6 separate regions of the Homo sapiens genome follow, and all the other regions are linked to region 4. The links are contacts of gene promoters, found by promoter capture Hi-C in blood cells and fetal thymus (Javierre and others, 2016). All regions are on one chromosome and are shown on one strand. The core of a region is centred on a gene start or on the middle of the fragment in contact, and the rest is flanking DNA. Distances in the headings are between cores, read along the strand shown. Region 1 overlaps MFHAS1 (multifunctional ROCO family signaling regulator 1). Region 2 overlaps TNKS (tankyrase). Region 3 overlaps ERI1 (exoribonuclease 1). Region 4 holds the start of AGPAT5 (1-acylglycerol-3-phosphate O-acyltransferase 5). Region 5 holds the start of MFHAS1 (multifunctional ROCO family signaling regulator 1). Region 6 has its middle 6.0 kb from the start of TNKS.

The links. The method cuts DNA at HindIII sites, captures the fragments that hold promoters and counts their contacts. A CHiCAGO score of 5 or more calls a contact.
Region 1: a fragment that was not itself captured here is called in contact with the fragment with the promoter of AGPAT5 in region 4 in 1 of 17 cell types (fetal thymus); the score reaches 5.7 in fetal thymus.
Region 2: a contact is called between a fragment that was not itself captured here and the fragment with the promoter of AGPAT5 in region 4, in 1 of 17 cell types (activated CD4 T cells). The highest score is 8.6, in activated CD4 T cells.
Region 3: a contact is called between a fragment that was not itself captured here and the fragment with the promoter of AGPAT5 in region 4, in 1 of 17 cell types (erythroblasts). The highest score is 7.0, in erythroblasts.
Region 5: a contact is called between the fragment with the promoter of MFHAS1 here and the fragment with the promoter of AGPAT5 in region 4, in 1 of 17 cell types (fetal thymus). The highest score is 8.7, in fetal thymus.
Region 6: a fragment that was not itself captured here is called in contact with the fragment with the promoter of AGPAT5 in region 4 in 2 of 17 cell types (total CD8 T cells and total CD4 T cells); the score reaches 6.5 in total CD8 T cells.

What each region holds. Positions count from the first base shown.
Region 1 is chr8:8,871,511-8,874,356 of GRCh38, reverse strand. All of the region lies in intron 1 of MFHAS1 (multifunctional ROCO family signaling regulator 1), which reads left to right. Among named protein-coding and RNA genes, the nearest start is that of MFHAS1, 21 kb to the left of the region's middle. The HindIII fragment of the contact is 1,084 bases long and covers 709-1,792 here.
Region 2 is chr8:9,564,832-9,567,805 of GRCh38, reverse strand. All of the region lies in intron 1 of TNKS (tankyrase), which reads right to left. Among named protein-coding and RNA genes, the nearest start is that of TNKS, 10 kb to the right of the region's middle. The HindIII fragment of the contact is 3,966 bases long and covers 1-2,974 here.
Region 3 is chr8:9,006,300-9,008,999 of GRCh38, reverse strand. It overlaps ERI1 (exoribonuclease 1), which reads right to left. Exons shown (of 7, transcript NM_153332.4): 2 at 852-1,030. Among named protein-coding and RNA genes, the nearest start is that of ERI1, 4.8 kb to the right of the region's middle. The HindIII fragment of the contact is 1,124 bases long and covers 880-2,003 here.
Region 4 is chr8:6,707,195-6,709,894 of GRCh38, reverse strand. It overlaps AGPAT5 (1-acylglycerol-3-phosphate O-acyltransferase 5), which reads right to left and starts at 1,253. Exons shown (of 8, transcript NM_018361.5): 1 at 1,008-1,253. The coding sequence starts at 1,226. MCPH1-AS1 (MCPH1 antisense RNA 1) reads left to right here and starts at 1,686. Exons shown (of 5, transcript NR_125386.1): 1 at 1,686-1,754. RefSeq lists silencers at 860-1,099, 1,160-1,499. The HindIII fragment of the contact is 5,238 bases long and covers 1-2,700 here.
Region 5 is chr8:8,892,257-8,894,971 of GRCh38, reverse strand. MFHAS1 (multifunctional ROCO family signaling regulator 1) reads left to right here and starts at 1,342. Exons shown (of 3, transcript NM_004225.3): 1 at 1,342-2,715. The coding sequence starts at 1,914. RefSeq lists silencers at 1,197-1,446, 1,457-1,736, 1,847-2,116 and an enhancer at 1,961-2,715. The HindIII fragment of the contact is 4,068 bases long and covers 960-2,715 here.
Region 6 is chr8:9,548,537-9,551,236 of GRCh38, reverse strand. No RefSeq gene overlaps it. Among named protein-coding and RNA genes, the nearest start is that of TNKS, 6.0 kb to the left of the region's middle. The HindIII fragment of the contact is 524 bases long and covers 1,025-1,548 here.

The sequences.
Region 1 (2,846 bases), core at 1-2,500, 2.2 Mb before region 4:
TGTGTGTGTGTGTGTGTGTGTGTGTAGAATGTTATAGTATATCCTACAAATATAGCATAGTAGTCTACCAATGGATGTATTGTTCAGTCACACCTATACCGGCAGACCTTTGATCCTTTCCAGATTGTTAAACTAAGTACGTTCTCCACCTTCCAGAGGTGTAAGAAATACTCAGTTTTATTTCCTTCAGGGTTAATAATCCCTCTCTGTGCTCGGAACACTCTTGAGATGCAATTAGAAAAAGACAAATCTCTAAATCAAAGTGGTGGGACCTAAAAAAAGCCTCGAGGGTTATGAAGGCTTCGCTTTGTGATTTGAAACAAGGTAATTTTTTTAAATTGGCTTTGGTGATGTGTATTGGAACACCATTGTTTTCAGCATAATTACGCATTTCACAGCTTAATTCAGCCATTACACGTGATGCAGTGTTTAGACATAGCAATAATTACAAATTGTACATGTTTACAGATAGATATACCGCTGATCAAAATAAAACAGTGGCAGCAAGAATGATGTTCTGTCCATGTAAGAAATCAATGAAATATAATTAAGAACGAACTGTATCTCATTGACTCAAAACATTGCATCTGCCTTTCTGTCCCATCTGTTTTCTAAACAAAAATCTTCCCGCGCTGCGTGGTTGTTTTTATTTGTATCCTAGAACCATCCTCTCGAGTTCCACACCGTTGTATTTTCTACACCTAAGCTTGGTGTGTTCTGCACAGGAAATGTTTCTTGGATGTTTTATCCTCATACCAAGTGGGAATTTAAAATTTAAGAGATTACCCACACTCTTTGCCTTTCTGTACATGTGATGAAGAAAGAGTGGGTGTAACCCAGCACTCTAAAATGTGTTTGACCTGTAAAAAAAAAAAAAAAAAGTAAGCAATTAAATCCTGTTATAGTTGCTTCTGTGTTTAAAACATACTTAATGACGTATATATTTATTTCAAGCTAACAAAGTCCCCAGTCAGGTTCTTGGGAGTTTTTTTCACAGGACTCATTGAAGTGTTTGGTCTTTAAAATCCTTCATTTCATGCTAACTGCCAAGTCAATGCAGACAGTATGGCCGAACAGAGCTGGTCACATTTTCCCTGAACATGCTATTAAAAAATATATTCACTGGGATTCTCTTGACTCATGGCATAGCTGAGGTGACTTTGATTCCGGAGGGCTATTGCTTATGAATTGCATGTGGAAGAACTAAAAATAGAAATGTGAATTTTCCAAAAGAACACTATGATACCAAAAATGGCTCACTGGCTTGCCTAGAGCTGGGCTGTTTTGTGCCCAAGGTACAGTAATAAGAACTGGGATGCAAAGCCCTGTAGGGTGCATCTGTCCCCTTCCCTGACACCCCTCACTCCCAGATGGCTCACGAGTGGCACTGCCCGGTTGTCTCCGTCTCACTCTTGCACGATGTTCTGCTGCCTGTCTGGGATGGAGCAGGTGTTCTTTTGAATGTATTTGTTAAGCCTCTGAAATATATGCATTTCCCCCTCCCCAAGAAAAACACACATGTGCATGCTCTGTGCTTTTCCCTGGTTACTGTATTGTTCCCATCTTTTTTTTTATTTTTATTTTTTCCCTTGGAATAGGGAATATCCACTCATTTTCTATTTAGTCCCTTCAGGAATTTGCCTTAGGGGCTGTTGGGCCAGGCCTCACTGCAGCCAGCCAGAGCTTATCAGCTGTGTGTTAACCTCTCCCAGACACTTCTTGAATGCTGTTCATGCATCCGAGCCTATGCATCTGAGCCTCCTCTGTGTAATGTGGTGCGGCATTAAAAGCTTACCCAAATAGCAGGGATGATTGCATCTTGTTGATTACCAGGGCTGATAACATTTTCTTGCTTAGCTAAAAAGAAAAGCCAGATGACTGTTTCCAGGAAGTGATAAACTGCCATGCATCCGGCCCCAGGTGGTCCGCATGAAGGAAGCTGCAAGGTTGGAATCCTCCTGCCGTCCCCTTTTACAGTTCATAAATCTTCTGATTTATGGGGCCATTTGTGATTGCAGACACATTTATTCATGGGGGGATTTCCATCGAGATCATAACCCACTGTAAAGCAGGAGGAAGAATCAGGAATTAGAACGGTGTACATTCCTCTTTGTTAGAAAAGAATCCCGATTCTTTGGTCATAGACAAATATTTGCTTTTGAAGAATCTGGTGGTGTGTCGCTGGCTTTGTTCATATCCGTGCACAGTCACATGCTCCCTTGCCTCCCATGGACCCAGAAGCTTATGTTACACAGATCGTTTTATAATGCTTGCCATCCGGGCATGTTTATGCAAAGTGTGAATAACTTTTTGCCTTAGCCTCCTCTTCCTTCCTTCTCCCTCCTTTGATTTAGCTCATTTCTGGAATGGGGCAGATTTTCATCTCAGGGAGTTGATACGGTTTCCTAGGTAGGGTGACAGAACAAGTGTCACCTTAGCTGTAGCTAGAGATGAATATTGCCATGCAGCTTACTTGCTTTATATTAAACCAGCATTAGAGAAAGAGGCCTTGCATCTTTTATCAGCAGTATGTTAACCTCTCCCAGGCACTTCTTGAATGCCATTCATACATCTGAGCCCATGCATCTGAGCCTTGGATGTAATTAAATCAGTGGATTAGGAAGTCGGGGGCCTGGACCTCTGGGAAGCCACTTGGCCTCCCTGGGCCTCAATTTCGTCTGTAAATAGGTAAAAATAATTCTAACAGTTCCCAAGCATTTACACCTGCTATCAGAGTCTCCTTAGATGTTGTGAGGGGGAAATGAATGAATAGATGTCAAGTCCCCAAGTAGTTTTTTCTTTGTTTGCGTGTTTGTGATCACTCTGTTGCCCAGGCTGGAGTGCAG
Region 2 (2,974 bases), core at 183-2,682, 2.9 Mb before region 4:
TTCTTCTTCCATGAGTCAAAACATACAGCAAAATTTATCTACGAGATTTTCTAACAACTCTATATAGTCTTTTAAAGAAAGTCGTTGCTGGAAGGGTGCGGTGGCTCAGGCCTGTAATCCCACCACTTTGGGAGGCCAAGGCGGGCAGATCACAAGATCAGGAGAACGAGACCATCCTCGCTAACACGGTGAAACCCCGTCTCTACTAAAAATACAAAAAAAATTAGCCGGGCGTGGTGGCGGGCGCCTGTAGTCCCAGCTACTCGGGAGGCTGAGGCAGGAGAATGGCGTGAACCCGGGAGGCAGAGCTTGCAGTGAGCCAAGATCGCGCCACTGCGCTCCAGCCTGGGCGACAGAGCGAGACTCCGTCTCAAAAAAAAAATAAATAAATAAGAAAGCAGTTGCTAAAATATCCTTCCTTCTTCCATTTAGTTATGAGGTTCTTCAAAGATTACTTCCAATCACACTTTTTATGTTTATAAAAACAATCAACTGAACAAAAGACCAGATAGTCCCAACATTCTAGTAACTGCAAATGTTCCAATACCATACTTACAAAAAAGTTTTACTTTAAATGCCTAAGAGAAGGACTGGAGGGAATATGTCAAAATCACTAGTAGCTCCCTTGGGGTGGGAAGATGATGCCCTACTTTTTACTGTACTTTCCAAAATTTGTAAAGTTACGTTTATTACCAGAAAACCAACTTGAGAAAGCAGTAAGAATCGTCAGATTACAAAATGACACAAAATACAGATTTTATTTCTCATTGCTATCAACTTTCCATTTGAGTAGCACAGACCAAATGATTTTACGACAACCAGATTGGGTTTAAATCTGGCACCATTACTTAAAAGCTAGCTATGTGACCTTGGACTCTGATGACAAAAGACTGGGCTAGGCCGGGCGCGGTGGCTCACGCCTGTAATCCCAGCACTTTGGGAGGCCGAGGCGGGTGGATCATGAGGGCAGGAGATCGAGACCATCCTGGCTAACAAGGTGAAACCCCGTCTCTACTAAAAATACAAAAAATTAGCCGGGCGCGGTGGCGGGCGCCTGTAGTCCCAGCTACTCGGGAGGCTGAGGCAGGAGAATGGCGTGAACCCGGGAGGCGGAGCTTGCAGTGAGCCGAGATTGCGCCACTGCAGTCCGCAGTCCGGCCTGGGCGACAGAGCGAGACTCCGTCTCAAAAAAAAAAAAAAAAAAAAAAAAAAGACTGGGCTAATATACGAGGATTAATATTTATGTACTTAAGAATGTCAGAAGATCAGAAATCAGAAGTGTTAACTCAAAAAGTTTACTTGTTCAAATACTTACAGAGCACTAAAACAAGCAATTCATTGAATTAAATAATGAAATTATCTTATTATATACCCCATATTTATCTGCTTTCATAAATTAACATAGGATAACAGTTATATTTTTCTGTTGTTAAGTCTGTGTATTTTGGGGCTGGGGAGAAGGAGGAGGCAGACAACTTTTGATAGCTTGCTCAAAGTTTCAAAAATTTATCCAAAAAGTTTTCTTTTTCCAAATAAGAATATTTTCCTGCAAAGAAGAAAAACATAAGTTGGTACCTCAAGACATTAGAAAAAAATAGCTAAGATGTATTAACTAAGTGTAATTCTATGTCATTTCTTTTGAAAATACCAAATTTCCACAGTCAACATGAGAATAACCCAAGCATTTGGAAGAGGAGACCTGCACATCTTATTAACATGACTGATGAGAATGTCAAAATGGTTTCTACGGTTGATGAGTATTATCAGAATGAGGGCATCAGAACTTTTCAATGTCTACTTACTATGTATATAATATATATGTCAACATATAATTTGACATATATAATAAGTTATATACATGTAGACACAAAAAAGTGTGTATACACACACTTTAACAAGGCATCAGGGAGTTTAGTTTATTTTTATTTTTATTTATTTTTATTTTTTTTGAGACGGAGTCTTGCTCTGTCACCCAGGCTGGAGTGCAGTGGCGTGATCTCGGCTCACTGCAAGCTCTGCCTCCGGGGTTCACGCCATTCTCCTGCCTCAGCCTCCCGAGTAGCTGGGACAACAGGCGCCCGCCACCACGCCAGGCTAATTTTGTGTGTGTGTATTTTTAGTAGAGACGGGGTTTCACTGTGCTAGCCAGGATGGCCTCCATCTCCTGACCTTGTGATCCGCCCTCCCAAAGTGCTGGGATTACAGGCGTGAGCCACCACGCCTGGCTGGTTTAGTTTATTTTTGAACTAATGACACAGAGACTATAGCTTTAAGGTTTTTTGAGTCAATCAGTAAATTTAAAACAAATTTTGTTCAGTTTGGACTTGTAGTTCATGGAAATCATCTGCTAACTACCAAATGCTTCCTCACTTTAAAAGAAAATATACCAAAGAAGAAAAAATAAACAAGTCCAAACATCTGCCACCTACCAGCAGTTTAGTTTGTTCTACTGAAAAGGCAAAAGGGATAGAGAAAAAATTTTACATCACGTTATTTTCCCTCTTCCAAAACCAAAATAAATAAATAAATAAATAACTTGTCTAAATTGAATGGGGAGCTGACACACTCCAAAAAACAGCTTAAAAAAAAGTTTACCCTCACGCTGCTTTAATTCTATAAACAGATACCTGAACAAACTGGCAAAACAAGATTCGAGAAGAGAACTCAGTAACTCGCTCTGGTGAAAGCAAACTTAGACATCTGATGAAGCCTTAAAAGAAAAACAACGGGCACACAAAAACAAAACACCTAAAACTTTCCTCAATTACTTGAAATCAAAGTGATTTTTTTTTTTTAATGAGCCCCGGGGTTATCCTGAGCTCCTAGGCTTTAGTAGAAATCCCTAGGAAACCCACCCTACTCATTTTTTCTTGAAGATATAATGCTTTTTATTCACCAAGAAACTGAAAGTCCATTTCTGAATGTTTCTTTCTCGTGTATGTTTCATTGGTTTTATTAAGCCCCGTAAGGGGAG
Region 3 (2,700 bases), core at 192-2,691, 2.3 Mb before region 4:
TCAAAAATTTCTTCATACATTATGATGTAGACAATCTAGAAATTAATAAATTTGTGCTCTTTTGAAGAGTGGTGAAACTCTAAAGAGGAAGAATACTACTATTAAGAGAATTATGATTCAGAGATGTCTTGAAAAAGGAAGAGTTTTTACCTATTTCATACAGGCAATTTTTTTTCTTGATGCCTGGCAGTTCTACCGTTTATCAAAAATCGATGTATTTTTCTGGACTCCAAAAGCCATTTCTGCCCCATGGCCCAATGAACGTAAAGTGATTTGTTTCGCAAAAAATTACTAAAAACTTAGGTATGTGTATATCTCATTAAAATACACATACAGTTGACTAAGTTGCATTGTTTTCTCACTCAATATACAGTGAAACATAATGCAAACGATCATTGTAGATTATTTTTTAGAAATTAAAACAAAAAATATTCCTGTTAAGTGAATGTTTTTAATTTATTGTACCTGATTTCAAACAAACTCTTTTTATAAAAGATACAAATGGCAAAAAGAAAATAAAAAATACTCTATCTCACTAATATAACTATCCATCATTTAAATGAGCAACTAAAAAAATTTAAAACACTCTTGTCATAATAAGACAGAGACTCCTATACATTGCCGGTAGGTCATTAAAATATTTGACTTTGATTCAGCAGTCCTATCATCTAGAAGACAGACAAAAATAATCAGAGTTGCACATAAAAAATGTTAATTAGTTTTTGTGAACTGTTAATAGGATCATGTCATTACGGTAGGATTACAGATGATTTTTAATATTTCAATGTTTTCAAGATTTTCTAAAATGAGCATGTACTACTTTTATAATTTTATAAGTTATTTTTAATTACCTAGTTTCAAGCTTGAATTCTGAAAGCTTAGCTCTGAGTTCTTCCTTACTCATTCTATTAATACAGCCATTCGTAATGGCAATCTCTTTGTAAACCGGGTCACTGAAGTCACTCGCACTGGAGGTAATGAACTTGGATCCTTTTGTCTCCTGGCCATCAAATTTACACTGTTGAGTTTCCTACCAAAAAAAAAAAAAAAAAAAAAAAAAAAAAGGATGTAGTTTATAATTAGTACAAACATCACAGATTTAAAGATTCAAACTTTCAAACTTCTGAAGCCTCTTCATGCTACATGTTCAATGAAAAGTGTTCACTGCAGCTCCTAAACGGAGGAAAGGATAAGAAGGAAGATGCGTCTCCAATACAATTTACCCCACTCTATTATGAGTCATGAGGTTCCTCAAAGGAAACAAAGCTAAGTAAAAAGAAGACTGGTGGTGGGAGTCAACACCACCTCAATAGAGAACCCCAGCTGACTATTTACTAGAAATAGCAGCATGACTTTGGATAGCTACGTATTAGCCTCTGATCCTCAATTTCCTTATCTATAAAATGGTAATTTGGTAATGGTAAATAGTGTTTGGGCAGAATTATTACAAAGATTAAATGAGATTATGTGTATCAGACCCCTACACCCACAGTAGCTATTAATAAATGGTAACTATTAATATCACAGGCTATACAACAAGCCCTTCACAAACAATATGCTAATATTTACAAATGAACCCATTTTTAAATGAACTTTTACATTATACATGTGTAATAACTTCTGATAATTTTTTAACCTGACTTCATTTCACAAAGTTAACAAAAATTGCCCAACATAAAAACAAAATGGACCGCAAATCTAATTTACAGCTTCCTAGTACTCAAAGAAGGAAATGTATTTAATTTCAAAACTTACATTTTCCAAAAGTTGTACTTAGGTCCACTAACCAGAAGAACTATAGAATTATGAATTTTTTCATAAATAAAAATCTGTTAAGAAAAAACATGACTCAATTCTATTTTCTCCACAGGCAGTCTCAAATTACTAATATGTTAAGTTCCAAAGATTCATTTGTAAGTTATTTTCCACATGCAATATCACAAATATTAGCTATGTTCCATAATTTTGAAAAATATTTAGTACTAATTATCCCTATTAAAGCTTGTTACCTTAGTTATAATGTACCACATTGTCCTCACGTAAACTGTAATTATAGATCAAGGAAGGATAATCACAGAGAGGCCACAGTCCCTAACTCAGAACTGATCCTGATGGTTCAGGAACCATTTCTTACTCTAAGCTCTCAATTTAATGCAACACACATTTACTGGAAATGTAATGCTAGGTAAGGTGCCAGAGTACTCAAGAGTGACTCACCCATTTCCTTTGAGGAAGAGGTCAGCAGTTCCAATGTGTGAACTGTCCATAAATTAAAGAACAGCCACACTGAGGTTCCTTGTTAACAATGTTAAGGAAAAAAAAAGTATTGCTAGTTGACCAATGATTCACTTTCAACAATATATTAGATTTACAATAGATATTGCTCTGCTTGACCAGAATTTTACAAAAAATTATCTTTTGACTTTAAATTTACATTGAATTTGAAACTTCATCTTTAGTCATCATTTAGTAAATTTCAGGTTAAAATTTAGGTCAACATTAAGTAACAGTTTGTCTACCAAAACAGATGTCTCAGTTAATTTAAGCAGATTTTCTCTTTGGATAAATCCTCTTTCTGATTCACTGGTTAATTCTCATCCTAAACTGTAGCTAGAAAAATTATTCACAAGTAACACTTAGGCCTCTTCTATAGATGCTATAAATTATGACTTCCATAAAGAAAAATTTGCTTCCTTTCCT
Region 4 (2,700 bases), core at 4-2,503:
GGAGACACTTACAGACACTGGTTTAAATGGAGGCCCTGGCCTCTCCTAGTTCCTTCCCCCCAAACAACTTCCAACTGGGGCCATCAAGGGTCGATCAGCAGTGCAACTGCAAACTAAATATAGTACCTGACTGACCACAGGGTAAAAACAGCTGCTGTAGGTGGAAAAAAAAAAAGTTAAAAAGACAAAATGATACCGTCCCATTTCCCCATGCCACCCTAACCCTACCAAGAAAAGTAAAAGAGGACTAGGTGGACATTAGGAATAACCAAGAATAAAGCTGTTCTTTCAAACTGAGAAATAAAAGAAAAATTCACCTTTTTTTTTTTTTTATAACACTTCAAATACCTACTGTTAAAGAGGGCCTTCCACTTTTATGGTTTGTTTCTCAAGTTTAATCTACGAATCCAATCTCTACAGAGAAACAGTAACAGAAAGAAAGTAATCAGACAACAGATCACCCACACATTCAAGCCCAGTTAAAGTTGGCAAGAAATGTATCTAGTTAGGCTTCTACGGTTAACAAATGTATTCATTTCTTCGCCCAGCTTTCACTTGTCCAGGGGAAAGAACACAAGACCGAATTGTACTTCTGTTTCAAGAGGTCACTGTAAAAGCGCACTTCGGAGTGTAGACGTCTCCGATCTGTTCCAACATGACCACCTCTTTGGACCAAAGGCCAGAAACTGCTAAACGCGTGCCCTATTATTTAAAACGTGCATCTGCACCCACTTTGCTAAGCAGCATCAGACCCAGGCGAGGGGCGGGGAAAGGGGCGGCGGGTCCCACTCGTAGCCTCAGGACGACGCAGCCACAGCTTCCTAGAGAGCGATCTCGGCAGAACGGCAGGAAGCATGCGGAGAGGAAGGCGGGGAGGCGGCACGTGCTCTCCGTGCTGGGTCCGCCGGGCCGGCCGGGTGACCCTCGCCAGCTGTGGGGGAGCGGAGAGGTCCGCGCCCCCGGGAGCTCGGGTGGACGCCGAGACCCGGGAGCGGGAGGCGGCTCACCTGGACCCCGGTGTAATTCTCGAAGAAGAAGAGCACCATGCTCTGGTAGACGCAGTAGAGCCGGTCGTCCAGCGCTTGGTAGAAGCGGGCGGGCAGGAAGGCGGAGAGCAGCCGCCAGACCCCCCAGGCCAACACGTAGGTGGGCGCCGTGCCCAGGAGCACGACGCTGGGCAGCAGGTAGCGCATGGAGTACGTGTGGAGCACCAGGGACAGCAGCATCTTCTCAGCTCGGCGGCAGCGAGCTCCGCCTGCGCTCCCCGCCCGCCTCCCGGGCCTCAGTCGCGGCCAGCAGGCGGCCAATCACCGCCCGGGCCCGGGCCGCCGCGCCCGCCACCCGCTCCCAGCCTCCGCCCCCAGCCGCATGGGCCGCGCCGCCGCCCGGGGCCGGGTAGGCGAGTGCGGGGCTGCGTGCGCCGCTCCCGGCGGCAAAGCAAGGGAACCCGCGGCCCTCCCGGATCGATGGCTCAGGGATGCTCACACCCCATGACCCTCACCCATCGCCACATCCCCCTGCCGGGGCAGGGGGCTCCGCGGCAACAACGCGCCTTCTGATTGGTCGCCCGTTGCCATAGTTCCACCTCGGCGGCAATAACACGTCTCTTGATTGGTTGGTTTGGGCCGACAGTTGCAGTACAGCTACCTGCTGGGGCGCGGGCAACCCGGCTCCGGCCACTGCGCATGCTCCCCAGCTGGGCCGGCTGCGGACGCGGGAAGGGAGGTGGTGGCGACTGACGGAACTGGGTGAAGGTGGGTGCTGGCCGGAGGAGGGTCCGGGTGCCTCTTGTTCTGCTCCCTCGGGCCGGACGTGCGCGCGGTCAGGTTTAAGGGTCGCTGGAGCTGCCTGGAACGCGCACCTGCTGCTCACAAGCCCCTGGGCGCCGGGATGCACACAATTAGAGCAGTGAGAAAGTGGGTGTTAACGTTATCGGAGGTCTAATTCTTGCAGGCACCTGGGCCCAGGTTGTAGGCAGCTCGGCCCAGGTCGCGGGGCAGCTCGAGTGTCCCCATCTGCTCACTGCCAGTCCTTTGCAAGGGGACGCCGCCTCCTCAGCCTCCGCTCTGAGTGCGCAGCAGCCCCTCCTGCCCGTCTCTCGCTACCAGGGTGTTTCAGAATTAGGGTCCGTGTTTTTCCCCATCACAGTAATGATGATAATTACATGTTTATGCATAGCTGAAGAACAATCCCACAAGGATATTTCCATACTGTTTATTAGACCTTTTCAGAATTCACTCTTGCTTCATTTCCTCAGAGTCTGTTGGACTTGTTTCTGATTTTTTTTTAATAAGGAGCCTCGTTTTTTTCTGTAGTAATTAAAGTAGTTGCGTGCACATGTGTAATCCATAAAAAGCATACTTTTGTAGCCTTCACTAAAAGCTACGAAGGGTGGATAACTGTTTTATTGATGTTAAAGCAGATCCACAGGACTTTTGGATCTTTCTCCTCCCCTTTGGCTGTGGTAAAAATGGTTTAATATGTAACCCTTTTCAAGGATAGTTGTACTTTAAAAGAATGCCGAATGCTTTACCATATATATATATATATATATATATATATATATATATATATTCCCGCCCCCTCCCCACCACCACCATAATGGGAGCCTGTGCTACCTTTAGGCAGGACGGTATTTCAGTGGGAAGTTCTAATCAGGGCCAGGATGGTAGCTACTTTCTTTATACATGATTAACATCA
Region 5 (2,715 bases), core at 93-2,592, 2.2 Mb before region 4:
TAAGTTCGGGAGAAATTATTGACTTAGCATAGATGTGAGCTCAAAGAAACATTTCCTAACAGCAATAAAAATAAGCATTAGAGTTGAACAATGGACTGTGACTGTTTCCCAAAATAGCTGTTTTCTTGAGTCCGCAGAACAACAGGTACTGTATTAATGGGGATACAGTATTTGTTTCACAGCGTTGTTGTGAAGATAAACGGGATACCCCAGATAAACAGCTTGTGTCCCCCCCATCTTAACAACCCTCCTTTAGGCTGGCGGGCCACCTGCTCAAAAGCCTTCCCCAGGGGGGTTAAAACCGTCTTTTAGTAGTTCTGGTACGGGTGGGCTGGGGGAGATCCTCTAAAGCCAGTGCGACCTTGACCCCAGCCAATGTCCAGGCTCTTGACACATCCAGAGAATGAGTTCAAGGACAACTCAGAAAATAGTGACAATATGCAGATTTATTGCAAAGGGAAAAGTACACACCCAGGAAAAGGGATTGTGGAGAGGGTCACTCACAACGGGGCTTGGGGCTGCTACCTTTATGGGTTTCTTTAACCAAGGGGTGAAATATTCATGAAAATTCCTGGAAAAGTGTGGAGATTTTTCGGGACTGTGGTGCCACCCATTTTTACTTCAAATATGGGTGTCCCCGGAATTGTCATGGCACTGGTGTGACTTAGGATGTTAAAGAGCGTATAATGGAGGCCTAGGAGAAACCTAGGTCAAATCCAGGACCACGTCGGGTCCAGCCGGTCTTAGCCAGCTTGGTACACACCCTGGTTTTCAGGGTCTTATCAGCCCATAGCCTCCAGTCAAGTGAAACTGCTGCCTGGTATTTTTTATTCTCCTCTGACCAGCCTGCATTACTCCTGTCCCATGTTCAACACGAAATAGGGCCTCAGGAAATATTTACCAAATGAATGAATGGTTGCCTGTTCTAATTTTGTTTAACCACACTCTTGTCCTAAGCTTCTATGATGATACCCAGGGCCCCCGAGTTGTGCCAGTTCCACTACGGCGTGGATGCAAGGCGAGCGGCAGGGGAGCAGGTAAAGGATGAGTAAGGGAAGCCGGCGGATCCGACGCATTAGAGAACAAGAAAAAGAAATCCTTAGAGACTGGGGGCCAACAAAGAGCCAGGCGCGGGCGAACCCACCAGGGGGGCCCCGGAGCCCCACATCCGCCGCTGGGACGACCTCCCCGCCCAGCATGGTCCGGGGCGCGGACCCGGCCCCGCGCCAGGCGCCCCCGGCCCCGCACCCGGCGCCCTCCGCAGCTCCCGCCCCCGGGGCGGTGCCGGGAAAACGCGGCGCCTCCGCCGGTCACGTGGGGGCCGCTCCGGCGGGCGGCGCTGCCGCTTCCCAATCGCGCCCTCCCAGCGCCGGGGACGCGGCGCCCGCGCTCCCGCCCGAGCCCGGGGAAACGGAGACAAGGAGGCGCCGCCGCCCCCTCCCCGCGGCTGCGCCCCAGCCCTGCGCCCGCAGCATGCCCGCCGCCGGGCCGAGCGCCGCCCTCCCCCAGGAGCTCGAGGAGGCGACGCCGCTGCCGGCCGCGGGACCGCGGCTGCGAGGGTAGCGGGGCCGGAGCCGGGCCCCCCGAGGCGCCGCGCGGCGGGCGGAGAGGGAGGAGGAGCAGGCATCCTCCGCGGCGCGCGGGCGGCGGCCCTGCTGCCCGGCGCGCCCATGGCCCGGCCGCAGGGAGAATGCAAGCTGCTCTCCACGCGCTCGGCGTCCCCCGGAGCCGCTCGCGTCGCCGCCGCCCCCTAGCCGCCAGCGCTCGGCCGCTGGCTGCGCTAGGACCCGCGGCCGCCGGCCGCCGAGCGCGGGAGGGCAGGCAGGGGCAGGAGCCGGAGGGCCCGGGGCGCGGCGCGGCATGTAGCTGCGGGCTCCCGCGTCCGCGTGAGGCTGTCGGCCCGGGGCCCCGCCATGGCTGGGATGGACAGTGGCAACCTGAAGACCGCGAGGCTGTGGCGGGACGCCGCCCTGCGTGCCAGGAAGCTGCGGAGCAACCTGCGCCAGCTCACGCTTACCGCCGCCGGGGCCTGCCCCGGGGCCGGGGCCGACGCGCTCGAGTCCCCCGCCTCCCCCCAGCTCGTGCTGCCGGCCAACCTCGGGGACATTGAGGCACTGAACCTGGGGAACAACGGCCTGGAGGAGGTACCCGAGGGGCTGGGGTCGGCGCTGGGCAGCCTGCGCGTCCTGGTCCTGCGCAGGAACCGCTTCGCCCGGCTGCCCCCGGCGGTGGCCGAGCTCGGCCACCACCTCACCGAGCTGGACGTGAGCCACAACCGGCTGACCGCCCTGGGCGCGGAGGTGGTGAGTGCTCTGAGGGAGCTGCGGAAGCTCAACCTCAGCCACAACCAGCTGCCCGCCCTGCCCGCCCAGCTGGGCGCTCTCGCTCACCTGGAGGAGCTGGATGTCAGCTTTAACCGGCTGGCGCACCTGCCTGACTCCCTCTCCTGCCTCTCCCGCCTGCGCACCCTGGACGTGGATCACAACCAGCTCACTGCCTTCCCCCGGCAGCTGCTGCAGCTGGTGGCCCTGGAGGAGCTGGACGTGTCCAGCAACCGGCTGCGGGGCCTGCCTGAGGATATCAGTGCCCTGCGTGCCCTCAAGATCCTCTGGCTGAGTGGGGCCGAGCTTGGCACGCTGCCCGCCGGCTTCTGCGAGCTGGCCAGTTTGGAGAGCCTCATGCTAGACAACAACGGGCTGCAGGCTCTGCCCGCCC
Region 6 (2,700 bases), core at 37-2,536, 2.8 Mb before region 4:
GACTCCAACCAATGGCAAAGATTGGGGCAAAGACATCTGCCAGCAGAGACCATCAGAAATACCGGCTGAGAATGAGTGGCAGCCCAGGCAGTGAGAGGCATTAATCAATCCCCAAACATGTGGTATGTGCCTTCCACCCACTATCTCCTTTTACTTGCTTGCTGTTGTTACTTGGCTTGTTGAAAGAAGGAAATGAATGAAAGCTGTTTAAGTGGTGTATGTGTGTAACTTCTCTTGGTATTACCTATTCCTCCATATCCTGAACCTAGGTCTTTTGATGCTGAGTTGCTCAGAAAAAAATACTGTACAATCCAGGATAAGTCATTTAACCTCTGGTATGGTTTGGCTGTGTCCCCACTCAAATCTCATCTTGAATTATAGTTCCCCAGTCCCCACATGTCATGGGAGGGACCTCGTAGAAGGTAATTTAGTCATGGGGATGGTTACCCTCATGCTGTTCTCATGATAATGAGTGCGTTCTCATGAGATCTGATGGTTTTATAAGGGGCGTTTCCCCATTTTGCTCTGCATTTCTCCTTGCTGCCACCATGTGAAGAAGGACATGTTTGCTTCCCCTTCTGCCATCATTGTAGGTTTCCTGAGGCCTCCCCAGCCCTGTGGAACGGTGAGTCAATTAAACCTCTTTCCTTTATACATTACCCAGTCTCTGGTATGTCCGTGTAGCAGTGTGAGAACAAACTAACACAACCTCTTTGTAAACTCACCTGCAAAGTAGAGACACGAAGTAGAGACATTAATAGTTGTTCTGAGAAATTAGTAAGTTAATATATGCCAAGTGCAATAAACAGTTTCTGGCATGTGATAAATGGAATGTAAGTGTCAGCTTTTATTGTTATCAAGAACAGGGATGGGATATACTTTGTATAAAGGTCACCTAAGAGACACTAGTCTTGTCTGCCCAACAACAAGCAGGTCTCCTTTTACTCAATATTGTTGTTATTTGGCTTCCCATGCATGCTGCTGCTTTTGCTTTACAGTGTCTTAAAGGAAGGTCTAATAAGCTTGGAAATGAAAAGGGACTCTTATATTAAGGGAAATGCAAATAGTCCCTTCTGGCTGTGGTCAGGATTTAGGAGAGATAGAAACTCTACAAAGGAAGGCACCTCAGCCTGAGGTAGGCAGGTTTCTCTCAAACATATTCCTCCCTGCAGTGCTGAGAAACCATCTCTGTTGTGTGGAAAACCACCACAGCTGCCAAGACCACCTCAAGAGAAACCAACACAGCCATAATTCCTGAAGTCAGTGTGGTCCAGGATGTTTGCAGAAGGAACATCCCACAGAAGATGAATTTACAACCTTGAATCACCACACATGAGAGAGGGCCAACAACATGAGAGAAAAAACAGAAAACCTAAAAAAATCAAAGACTACAGATAATACAGCAATCTACAATGTATTTTTATATCCACATTTAAGGTGGGCAGAATAATGGCACCTCAAAGATACTCAAGTCCAAATCTCTGGAAGCTGCAGATATGTTACTTTATGTGGCAAAGTGGAATGAACATCGAAGATGGAATTTAAGCTTGCTAATCAACAGACTTTAGAACAGGGAGACTTTCCTGGATTATGTGAGTGGGCCTAATGTAATCATCAGCATCCTTATAGGTACAAAAGGGAGACACAGAAGGAGGTTGAAAGTAATACCATGTGAAGACTCAACCAGTCAGTGCTGGCTTTGAAGGTGATGGAAGAATCCACAAGCCAAGGAATGTGAGCAGTCTCTGGAAGTTGCAAAAGAAAAGGAAACAGATTCTTCCCTAGAGCCCCCAGAAAATAACTCAATCCTGCTAACACCTTGATTTTAGCCCAATGGTACCAATGCCAGATTTATGACTGCAGAACTGTAAAATATATTTGTGTTAAGCTACTATGTTTGTGATAATTTGTTACAGCAGCAAAAGAAAACTAATACATGCCCTCTTTGGAAAATCAGGTGATATGAAGCCATCAGCCTATTTTTATACAGGACAATAGACTGAAGTGGCATAGTTTCTGCCACTTGGTATTACCAGAGGGCAATTATTCTCCATCGTTCCTTTTGTTCATGTACATCTTTCTGGCTTTACTCAGTTAAGAGGCTGGGTATACTAGTCCCCTATAGCTGCTATAACAAATGACCACAGACTTAGTGCCTTGAAACGGTACAATACAAATGTATTCTCCTACGGTTCTGGGGCAGAAGTTTGGAATCAGTTTCACTGGGCTAAAGTCAAGGCATCGGCAATGTTGGCATCTTATGAGGACTTTGGGGAGAATTTTCTTCTGAGAGCTTTGAGGGGAGAATCTCTTTCCTTGACTTTTTCAGCTTCTAGTGGCTGCCTGTAGTCTTTGGCTTGTGACCTTTTCCTACGTCCTAAAAGCACATCACTCATCTCTGGTTCCATCCCATCATCTTCTGTTTGACTCTCCCTACTCCTACTGCACTCTTAAAAGGACCATTGTGGTCAGGCGTGGTGGGCCCACGCCTGTAATCCCAGCACTGTGAGAGGCCAAGGTGAGAGCATCACTTGAGCCCAGGAGTTTGAGACCAGCCTGGGCAACATGGCGAAATCCTGTGTCCTGAAAAATACAAAAATTAGCCAGGCATGGTGGTGCACCCCTGCAGTTCCAGCTACTTGGGAGGCTGACATGGGAGGATCACCTGAGCCTGGGGAAGTAGATGCTGCAGTGAGCCAA